Linked DNA regions of Homo sapiens: region 1 is linked to region 2. Evidence: promoter capture Hi-C in 16 types of primary human blood cells and fetal thymus (Javierre and others, 2016). All regions are on one chromosome and are shown on one strand. The core of a region is centred on a gene start or on the middle of the fragment in contact, and the rest is flanking DNA. Distances in the headings are between cores, read along the strand shown.

Region 1 (6,069 bases), core at 910-3,409, 120 kb after region 2:
CAGTTTTCCCAGCACCATTCATTGAATAGGGAGTCCTTTCCCCATCCCATTTACAATAGCCAGACACACACACACACACACACACACACACACACACACACACACATTTAACCAAGGAAATGAAAGATCTCTATGAGGAGAACTACAAAACACTGATGAAAGAAATCGTAGATAACACAGACAAATGGAAAGACATCCCATGCTAAAGGATTGGAAGAATCAACATCATTAAAATGACCATGCGGCCCAAAGCAATCTACAGATTTAACACAATCCCTATCAAATTAGCAATATCATTTTTCACAGAATTAGAAAAAACAATGCTAAAGTTTATATGGAACCAAAAGAGAACCTGAATAGCCAAAGCAATCCTATGCAAAGAACAATCCTATGCAAAGAACAATCCTATGCAAAGAACAAATTACATTGCCTGACGTTAAATTATACTACGAGGCTATAATAACCAAAACAGCAGGTTTTGTATGGGTTACTGGTACAAAAATAGACACATAGACCAATGGAACAGAACACAGAACCCAGAAATAAAGCAACATACCTATAACCAACTGATCTTTAACACAGTCTTTCCCCGGTGTTTAAGCAAGTTTAAGTATCTGTCATCCTAAATCCTCCCCTTCAGCAGGAATCTTTCCTGCTTCTTGTGATCTGACCCTTGCCTCCTCTACAATCTCATCTCCCACTGTTTCTTATCTAATCTGCAAACCACCTCCATTCTTGCTGAAATCTGCCTCTAGTAGACCATGTGCTCTATCTTTGTCACTTTGCGCAAGCTTCTCTTTTTGCCTGGGTTGCCTTTTCCTCCCTCTCCACACTCTCTGCCTGCCCCCTGCTACTGGTAACCCCTGGACTTCCTTTATGACTCAACACAGGCTTCAGGAGGCCTTTTCTGAGTGAGCATTTCTGGGTAAGATGTTACTTCTCTGTGGCATTTGTCACTGTCTAATTCATTATATATTTACTTGTCTTCCTCCCTGGAGCTCACAGACTCTTTTGCTCAGCACCCCCAGAGCTTGGCACTAGGAGAGACTCAATAAATGAGAGCTGAGTGACTGAATGGATCCAGCTTAATTACATGGGATGAACTGGCTGTTGTTCACTCTGCCTTTGGGGCTTGGTCTCCACGTGTTCTCAGTGTTGGGCATATTTCAACCAGTGGGATGCTTGTCTTGAATGTGGGTGACTGAGGCTGGAGAGGTGGAAAAAGTGGGCTTGTTCTGTGGAATTGAGCCCATTCCCCTCAAACACTAGAGTCTGTGTCAATGTGAAGTCCACAGATGTGCACAAGGGACAGATATCTCCCCTCTCCTTCCTGCCAGGGAAGGCTATTTCTTCCATTTCTGGCCTCTGTCCATTTCATCTACACTATTCTCTGGAGAAGTTTGGACATTCATGGGCCCTTTGTTTCCTGTGGTGAGAAGTGCTGGATGTGAAAAGCATCTGGGGTGCTCTCTGGCCGGGGCCATAAAACTCGGCCTGGACCCCAGTCTCTGAGTTCAGGGGTACCTCAGGTATTCCTCTGTCCCACATGTTCCCTGCCTGCAACTCTGTTGTGAGCTCCACTTGGCAGGACTGGAGCACTGGTCTTGTTCAGTGCTGGGTTCCCCAGGCACAGGGTCTCACAAGTGAACGCTTGGTACTTGGTGAATGAATGAAAGTATGAAAGGTTCTTCTGTGTGTGTGTGTGTGTGCACGTGCACGTGCGAGAGAGACTCAACTTTGGCCCTGCTTTAGGCTTGTTAAAAATTTTTTTAGAGTTGGGGTCTTGCTCTGTCACCCAGGCTGGAGTGCAGTGGTGCAATCACAACTTACTGCAGCCTTTAACTCCTGGACTCCAGCAATGCTCCCACCTCAGCCTCCCAAAGTGCTGGGATTACAGGCACAAGCCACTGCACCCAGCCTTGCTTTAGGCTTTTAAAAGATCTCTCTGGGATAGCTCAGGGCAGCTTCTTGGGTAGACCCCACAGCCCTGCCTCCCTTGGCCTCTTGGAGCACCTGTAGAGTGCCCAGCTTGTCTCTGCATGCTGGGAACTTTCCTGGTGTTAGTGCTGGAAGACCTGCATTCTGGGAAACCCCTGCATTTGGGATATGCCGAGATGGATGGTCACTCTCAGCACATGCCGCCCGCACGTCTCCTCAGGTCCACAATCTGCAGGAGCTCCGGCGAAGTGCCTCACTGGCCACCAAGGTCTTTATCCAGAGAGACTACAGCGATGGGACCATCTGTCAGTTCCAGACCAAATTCCCCCCAGAGCTGGACAGCCGGGTAAGGATGCCTTTTTCTGCACTTGGAACCCAGGGCTGTGATGGAACTGAGGTTCTTATTGGAATGTATTTTATCCAGGATCCTATGACACATAATATCATAGGACACGTAACATGTTTGGCCACTTCAAAAGGATGAATTTTAAAAAATCAAAAGGATGATTCTTAATATTGTCTTACTGTCTCCTCATAGAAAATTAGAGCTGAAGGGATCTCAGGGATTTTCTGGTCTGGCTGCTCTCAAGTTTCAGTTGCCTAAAAATGATATAGAGAGCTTGTTAAACAAATGGAAATTCCTGAGTCCTACTGGATGATACAGGTGTTGTCCAGCAGTGCTGATCCAGTTGTTGGACTGTGGCTCAGGAGTCTCCATTTATTAGCAGCTGTTCTCAACCTTGGCTGTACATTAGAGGTTCCTGGGGAGCTTAAAAAATCCTGATGCTCAGACTGCAGCCCAAACCAACTACATTAGACTCTCTAGGGGTGGGACTCTGGAATCAGCATAGTTTTAAATCTTAATTTTGAAATGAATTTTAATCATGATTGTTTAAACTTTAGTATTTATTTATTTATAATTTTGTGGGTACCTAGCAGGGGTACATGAGATATTTTGATACAAGCATGCCATGTGTAATAATCACATCAGGGTAAATGGGGCATCCATTACTTCGGACATTTATCTTATCTGTTACAAACAATCCAGTTATACTCTTTTAGTTATTTTAAAATGTACAATTAAATTATTATTGACTATAGTCACCCTGTTGTGCTATCAAATACTAGGTCTTTTTTTTTTTCCCTTGATGGAAATCCAGGATGGAGTGCAGTGGTGTGACCACAGCTCCCTGCAGCCTCTGTCTCCCAGCTAAGGTGATCTTCCTGCCTCGGCCTCCCAGGTAGCTGGGGTTACAGGTTCGTGCCACTACTCCTGGCTAATTTATTGTAATTTTAGTAGAGACGGGGTTTTGCCATGTTGCCCAGGCTGGTCTCAAACTCCTGGGCTCAAGTGATCCGCCCTCCTCGGCCTCCCAAAGTGCTGGGATTACAGGTGTGAGCCACCATGCCCAGCCCAAATACTAGGTCTTAAGCCTTAATTTTTAATGAGGAATTCCCAGGTGAATCAGAATCAAGTGGTTCATAGATTACACTTGGAATTGCTAGTCTTGTTCAGCTGGTCTTCTTCAGAAACAGCGCTGCTTCTCATCCTTGGCTACACCTTAGAGGCACCTGGGAACTTTGAAAAAGGAAGCTTGCAGGGCGTCAGCTTGGGTAGGGCAGGGCAGTGGTGATCTTTGCTGCTCTGACCTATCCTCCCCCTTCCCAGACCATTGACTCAGAATCTCCTGGTGGGGGAGACTTGGGCATCATAGGGTTTAAAGGCTGCTCAGATAATTTCAGTTTGCAGCTGGAGCTGAGAACCATTAAGTCCTTGTTACTAAAACTGTGGCCTGTGGATCAACAATATCAACAATACCTGGGAGCTTGATAGAAATGCAGAATCTCAGCTCCCTCCCTGGATCTGCTGAATCCGAATCTGGGTTTTAATCTATTCCTTGGGTTATTCAGATATGCATGAAATTTTGAGAAGCTCCACACTAGTCCATCCCTCTCATTTAACAGAGGAAACTGAGGGCCAGAAAGAAGTGACTTATGGGAGTTAGTAAGTACCAGACAGGCTTAAGTGCCCCGCCTCTCTGCTTTTTCACAGGACTCTTATTTTCTTGCTGACACAATTGCATCTTTTGTGGGTACAGATCAAACTAAATGTCTTCATGATCACAGTCTCGCAGGGAAAGCTTAGAGACTCAAAGGAAGAGCTGCAGGCTGCTTTTCCCTTCTCCTTGCCTCAGGCAAAGGGGAGAGCCAGATGCACCATCCCACAGTCTGCTGGGTGGCATAAAAGGCAGTCAGCCAAGGGCTCTGCCTACAGCCTCTGCCTCTAGACTCAGCTAGTTGGGTGACTCATGGACCTCAGGCTGCTGTGAGGCATCAGCTGCTGAGTTTTGCTTCTGGTCCAGGGGTGTCCTCAGCTTTCATCCTAGGCTGCCCTAGAGTGGGCCTGGGACTGGGGAAGCCAGAAGGCAGATCCTGAGCTTTCACTCAGCAGCCCAGGTAGATCTGAATGGGTTTGGGAAGTGGGGGCAGGGATGGTCTGTACTGATATGACCCGGAGCCAGCTTTCGGAGAGAATGTGGGCCTCTTTCTCATCTTAGCATGCTTGTCCTTTAGGGCGGGGTGACCCCCAGGGTGGAGCAGCAGGGCTTGTGGCATGGACTAGATGGGCAGGATTTTCATAGGATTTTCTCTATGAGTTCTCCCCAGGTCTGTGTAGGGGGAACTCCTAAGCTTCCAACTATTCTTGGACAGAGGTTTTGTCCTAGAGAGGCAGGGAGGTCCCTAAACTGTGTGATGAGCATTTCTGGTCCTGCTGCATGAGTGAGGAAGAAGGTACTGTGAAGAATGTGAAAAATAGGGCTACTATTTTGACACTGTGACACCTGCTGAGTTTGGAATGTGACCTTCCCGGCTGTCTGGTGTTACACAGTGAAGAGCACAGACTGGAGTCAGAGCTGTAACCTTGGACAAGTTTACTTAGCAGTCACTAAGTATTTATTGATTATGTATTAGTCTCTAGAGATATAGGAGTAAACTCATGGCATTTATTTTCTATTAGATGGTGTAGAAAATAAAAAACCAAGCAAATACAGTTGACCCTTGCACAACACAGGGTTAGGGGTGCCTGTCCCCTGCACAGTCAAAAATCTGGATATAACCTTTGACTTTCTAAAAACTTAACTACTAGTAGCCTACTGTTGACTGGGAGTCTTCTGTTAATACAAACAGTTTATTAACACACATTTTGCATGTTATGTATATTATATACTGTATTCTTATAATAAAGTAAGCTAGAGAAAAGAAAATGTTAAGAAAATCATAAGGAGAAGAAAATATATTTACTACTCATTAAGTGGAAGTGGATCATCATAAAGGTCTTCATCCTCGTCATCTTCATGTTGGGTAGGCTGAGGAAGAGGAGGAACAGGACAGGTGGATCTTGCTGTCTCAGGGGTGGCAGAGTCAGAAGAAAATTCACATATACATGGACCCACACAGTTCAGACCCATGTTGTTCCAGGGTCAACTGTAAATATACCTCACTCAGGAGGTAACAAATACTAGAAGAATAAGGGGAGGATGTCACGGGGGTTGGGTGTGCTGGGGAGAGGTGAATGATCCTGGGCACAGGGGGAGGCTGTTGAATAAGGTGAGACCCAAGGGTGTTAAGGGTGTCACGGCAGCCTGCAGGGGAAAGTGTGGCAGCTAAGGAGATGGACACAAAGGGCCTGAGGAAATTTCAAGAAGCAGGGGTACTGAGTGAAGAGGAGAGGAGGAGACGGGCCCAGGGGTAGCAGGGTCGGGCCATGGAGGGCCTAGCGGGCATTGTAAGGACTTCTTGGATTTAACTTGCAGAGAGATGGGAAGATTGTGGGAGCTCTTGATCACAGCTGTGACATAATCTGACTTTAACTGGAAGTTAGGGCAGGAGCAGGGGCAGGGAGGCCAGTGAAGGGGCCAGAGACGGTGGCAGCTGGAACCACAGAGCAGTTCGTGGTCCGCGTGGTCTTAGGACCACAGAGCAGTCCTCACCTGTAAAATGGGGATGGCAGTAGTACTTTTCTGATAGAATTGTTCTGAGAGTTAAATGAAAGAGTGCATTTCCTGGCACACAGAAAGTGCTTAATACATATTAGCCATTCCTATTATGGATACGGGCAGGACAGCTTCT
Region 2 (5,300 bases), core at 2,780-5,279:
GTTTCACCTTGTTGGCCAGGCTGGTCTCAAACTCTTGACCTCAGGTGATCTGCCCGCCTCAGCCTCTCAAAGTGCTGGGATTACACGTGTGAGCCACTGTGCCTGACCGGTACTTAGGTTATTAAAGAAAAAAATTTATTTTTCTTAAGAAGGGTGGGGACTCCTTAGCTTAAATACTACATTGTTGAACACAAAACTTTCCCCATCCTCTCACTTAGATTAAGTCTGCCTCTTCTCTCTGCTCCTACGGTTACAGTAGAATCCCCTGCTTTATATCATGGCTCAGTCAAGTCAGCGTCTTCTGTTGAACTAAGAGTTCATAGAGGGTAGAATTTCTGTCCAGTTCATTCTTGCTGGTTTCACAGTCATTGTTTTAAGAAATGATTCATGACCAGCCTGGGCAACATAGCAACACCTCATTCTACAAAAAAAAAAAAAAAAAAAAAATTGGCCAGGCACGGTAGCTCACACCTGTAATCCCAGCACTTTGGGAGGCTGAGGCAGGCAGATCACGAGCTCAAGAGATCGAGACCATCCTGGCCAACATGGTGAAACCCCGTCTCTACTAAAAATACAAAAATTAGCTGGGCGTGGTGGTGTGCACCTGTAGTCCCAGCTACTCGGGAGGCTGAGGCAGGAGAATCGCTTGAATCCGGGAGGCGGAGCTTGCAGTGAGCCAAGATCGTGCCACTGCACTCCAGCCTGATGACAGAGTGAGACTCCGTTTCAAAAAAAAATAAAAATAAAAATTAAGTAGCTAGGTGTTAGTGGTGTGCACCTGTAGTCCCAGCTCCTCTGGAGGCTGAGGCAGGAGGATTGTTTGAGCCCAGGAATTAGAGTGAGCTATGATTGCACCATTGCACTGCAGCCTGGGCAGCAGCAGAAGACCCTATCTCAAAAATAAAATAAAATTACATTAAAAAAGGAAAGAAAGATAAGAAAAAGAAAAAAGAAATGGGCATTGTTCTGGGGCTTTTGTTGAAAGAGATGTGAATTCTGTGCTCCAAGAGGAAACTGACACGCATGCGCTCATTCAAGGAACATTTGTTGGTACCTCCTTTGTGCTAGATGCTGGACACAGAAATTATAGGCAGTTCCCTCAGGACTCTCACTGTCTAGAGAGAGGAGGAGGCACCAAGTGCTGGGGTGGGGCAGGCCCACGGAGCCAAGTCAGAAGGGCACGTAATCCAGACAGTGGCTGCTGATGGGGAAGGTGTCAGAGAAGTCTTTCTTCAGGGGTGAGATCTGAGCTGAATTTTGGAGGAAGAATAAGAGCTGGCCAACTAAAGAATATGGGGCGCAGTGGCTCACGTCTGTAATCCCAGCGCTTTGGGAGGTCGAGGCAGGTGGATCACCTGAGGTAAGGAGTTTGAGACCAGTCTAGCCAACATGGTGAAACCCCATCTCTACTAAATACAAAAAATTAGCCAGGCATGGTGGTGCATGCCTGTAATTCCAGCTACTTAGGAGGCTGAGGCGGAAGAATCGCTTGAACCTGGGAGGCAAAAGTTGCAGTGAGCCAAGATTTCTCCATTGCACTCCAGCCTGCGCAACAAGAGCAAAACTCTATCTCAAAAAAAAAAAAAAAAAAAAGGTGAGAGTAGTCTGTAGAAAGGTACAGTAATGGGAGAAGGTGTGACATATCCGAGAACTGCCAGAGTTGAATACACCAGGCTTTGGTTTTATCCTGGAGGTCACAGGGGGCCACTGAAACTATCCACCAAGAGAGTGGTCTGAGAAAGGTACAGAGGGGTGGACAGGGTGGGGGATGGGAGTGGGTGGGGAGTGGCGATGGCCTATCCTGGAATTCAGACCTGAGGCCAGGTTAGGAAACGAAGAAGAGGGGCCTTCAGAGGCTATCTGCATGACAGACCCAGGAGCTTTCGGGGAAAAGACCCATCCTAAGGGAGGAGAGGCAGAGTCCAGCAGATGGGCCTGGACCACCACAAAGCTCAGTCCATTTCTCTAAGGGGTGGTGAGTGGATTTCTGTATATGGCTTAGTGATATGTGTGGGAATTGGATCTTTCTACATTTTGGCCTTTCGTGGATTCTTGTCTGATTTTTGGGCTAGGGGTGGTGGTGGTAGGGCTTTGAGTAAAAATAAAAATCACAATGATTGCTAACGATTTTTGAACACTTATAACATGTCAGGAATTTACATACTTTAGCTCATTTAATTCTCATCACAGCCCCACACTGAGGGTACCACTATGGTTATCCCCATTTTACAGCTGGAAAAACCAACCAAGCAATTCATCTGAGGAGAAGCCCTCCTACCTTACTTATGTTGGGACTGGCGCATGCCGGGTAATTGACAAAGTCAACTAAAGCAGGGAGCTTTGAGAAAAATACCTACACAGGGTAAGCATTTACTTTTGGGACAATCGTCAATTTATACATAGTTATAAGAACTAACACAGGGTGATCCCACAGACTACCCCCCAATGGTAACATCTTGCAACCCTTCTTAACAGAATGCCTACTATGTGCCAGGTACTGCTTTAGGTGCTGGAGACATAGACACGGGAAACGAAACATTAGCTGACAGAAGCCACAAGAGTGAATGAGATCCTCACGGAGTGCCTTGAGTCAGAAGAAAGAAGGGTAGCAAAAGGAGCCCCAGCATTTGAGGGGTAGGAAGAAAAGCCCTAAGGAGACCTTGAAGGTCGGAAAGAGAGGAGAGGGTGGTGTCATGGAAGCTAAGGTGGACAATGGTGCCAAAAAGGAAAGAGATTCCAGTGCTTCTGAGGTCATCTGCAAGGAGGACTGGGAAGTGTCCATTGGATTTAGCAGCCAGGATGTCACAGGTGAGCAGGCAGGTAGCCCAGAAATATGGAGGGGAGCAGGACCACAGTGCAGTGAGGAGTGAATTGGGCGAGGAAGCAGCGGTAGAGAGCACTTCACAGTGAGTCTTCCAACTCATGTAGGAAAGAGGGGGTAAAGTTAGGCTAAAGGAGAAATTTTCCATGAATTTTGTCTCTAGAATGATGATTAAGAGTTAGCGAGAGTCAAGATTTCAGGCCTGTTAGAGCAAAGCCCTAAGGAAATAAGAGTTGGACCCTGGAGCACAGCTAAGTCCTGGCTGGAGGGATGGGCCTGTCTTTCTGAAAGGAGATAATGGAGGAAGAGATGCAGTTAAAGCTCTGTGGCTACTTGAAGAGGGAAGTGATTACTTCCAGCTGGGGCACTCAAGGAAGGGATACAGACATTTGAGTGCCAGGGGCATTTGAGGGTAACAGTGGAGGGGTTCAGTTGGCCAAAGTTAAAGGCAGCTGAAAGATGGCAGGAGACAAGACCAGGAAATGCAGACCAAGGTGGGTGGTGGTATGGTTGGGGCGTTGGGGTCAGATGACACATAAGCTTCAAATTCCAGCTCCCATTTGCTTCTTAGCTGTGACTCTAAAGAAGTTCCTTAACACGTCTGAGATTCCCCATCTGTAAAATGGCGACAACCCTAATAGGGTCGTTGGAGGAGAACTAGATAATGTCTAAAAAGAGCTCAGTCCGGTTCAGTGCTTGGCTCCTCTGTACCTGAGCGCTAAGTCACTAATATAAAGCCATCGGATGTGTGCTTTAAGGGAAATTAACTGGGCCACACGGTGTGAAGTGAACTGAGCTGGGAGAGGCCTGCACAGGACCTTGTACACACTAGCTACTCCGGAAACAACTGCATGCTCTGCTGGGCATCTCATACAGGATACGGTGTCTTTCCGGGGCTCACACACAGTCCCCAGTTCAGTTCCAAAGTTGGAAGGAAAGAGGATGAAGACGTAAATTCTTCATTTAAGCCTCTCGCCAACTGTTCCCTGCGGCAAGGCAGGGCAACGAGCTGCAGGGTCGCCAAGCACGTGCTTCCAAGGGTCCTCAAGGCTTTGTGAACGGCGGCCGGCCAAGGACAGAATTAACTCCAGCCTGGAGCGCGCGGGAAAGACGCGCAGGCGCACTGCTGGCAAGGGTGCTTGCCTGTGCTGGGGTGGGCGGAGCTAAACCCGGAGCGGGATGACGTCATGAGGACGCAGCCGCAGAGCGATTCGCGTCCCGGAAGCGGCGGTGGCGGCCGCGGCGTAGGCGGAGGAGATTTTCGGACCTGCGACTTCCGAACAACCCTGGCAGGAGGAGCGGCGTTCAGCCGGGGGAGGCCTGAAGAAACGCTCCGGGGCCCAGTGGCTCTACCCCTGCTCCTGCCCGACCCTGCCGCCTCCCTCACGGAGCCAGCGGCCGGGTAGGTGAGGTGCCGTCCCCCCGCGTCCCAGTGTCTCCGCAGGCTGTGTGTAGTTGGGTGCTTGGGCGCAGCGGGGGCCGCCACATGCTGGCCCCACGACCTCGGGCATGGCCTTCCCTGTCCAGCCTCACGGGCTCCATCAGGCCCCCCTGGCTGCAGAGGTGTTGGCCAAGGCCAGTGCGGGCGTCGATATACCTCGCCCCTTCCTGGGCTCATACCTGGCGCCGCTCTGTGCCCTTTCGCCTTGGCTCGGCCTGCGGGGATTTCGGGGTCCCGTTGGCCCCTTTGTCCCATCCCCTCACCCTCCCATCAGGTCGCGGCTGATTGCCTGGGACTGGTTTATGTTGCTCTTCGCCGAGGTTCCGCCCCCTCGTTTGCTGCTTAGAGTTCAGGATAGGACTTTGAACTGGGAAAGACCGTAAAGGCTCCTCGGTTTCCTCATCAGAAAGGGCAGACGGGAATGGGGCGTTCTGATGCCGACTGCCCTGGGGCAGAGATGGCCCAGGAAGTTGTTGGGAACCGAAGGGAGTGGGAAGAGTTAGAGGATCGGGCGAGAGTCCTGGAGCACGGTATTTCATTCACTCATTCAGCAGGCATTTGTTAAGCACCCACTGTGTACAGAAGCAGTCGTGAATGGAGGCCAGTTAAGAGCAGGGAGTTTTACTTTGACGTGGTCAGTGCTCTGCACTTGATCTTAGCCACAAGGCCAAGAAGCGATGTGATGTGATAAGTGCTCTGTTAGGGTGAGTACGTGATCCTTTGGGAGCATCGGAGAGGGTCTCCCAGTCCAGAGTTGGGGGTGTTGGCAGAGACTTCCCAGAGTAAGGGAGTGATGTTTAAGCTGATACCTGAAGGATGAGTAGGAATTAACCAGGTAAAGAGTGGGAGAAAAATGTTCCAGGACATCATTTCATTTCAGCCCATGGGCTGCCTCGCTGCAGCGATCATTTATGCTTGGTTTTTATGATTTTTAGTTTTGATGGATCTTTGGGGAAAAGAGCATTGGATGGAGAGTACAAAGAACAGGATTTTAGGTCTGAATAGTTCACTTTCCCTTGCTCACAGGTTTACTGTTGG

What was found. Contacts are between HindIII fragments. The CHiCAGO score rates a contact against its expected background, and 5 or more counts as called.
Region 1: a contact is called between a fragment that was not itself captured here and the fragment with the promoter of ZFYVE27 in region 2, in 7 of 17 cell types (M2 macrophages, naive CD4 T cells, non-activated CD4 T cells and 4 more). The highest score is 8.3, in M2 macrophages.

What each region holds. Positions count from the first base shown.
Region 1 is chr10:97,857,300-97,863,368 of GRCh38, forward strand. GOLGA7B (golgin A7 family member B) reads left to right here. Exons shown (of 5, transcript NM_001010917.3): 2 at 2,159-2,284. Among named protein-coding and RNA genes, the nearest start is that of GOLGA7B, 10 kb to the left of the region's middle. The HindIII fragment of the contact is 2,741 bases long and covers 790-3,530 here.
Region 2 is chr10:97,733,099-97,738,398 of GRCh38, forward strand. It overlaps ZFYVE27 (zinc finger FYVE-type containing 27), which reads left to right and starts at 4,030. Exons shown (of 13, transcript NM_001385875.1): 1 at 4,030-4,223. RefSeq lists an enhancer at 3,746-3,895 and a silencer at 4,226-4,295. The HindIII fragment of the contact is 3,622 bases long and covers 3,360-5,300 here.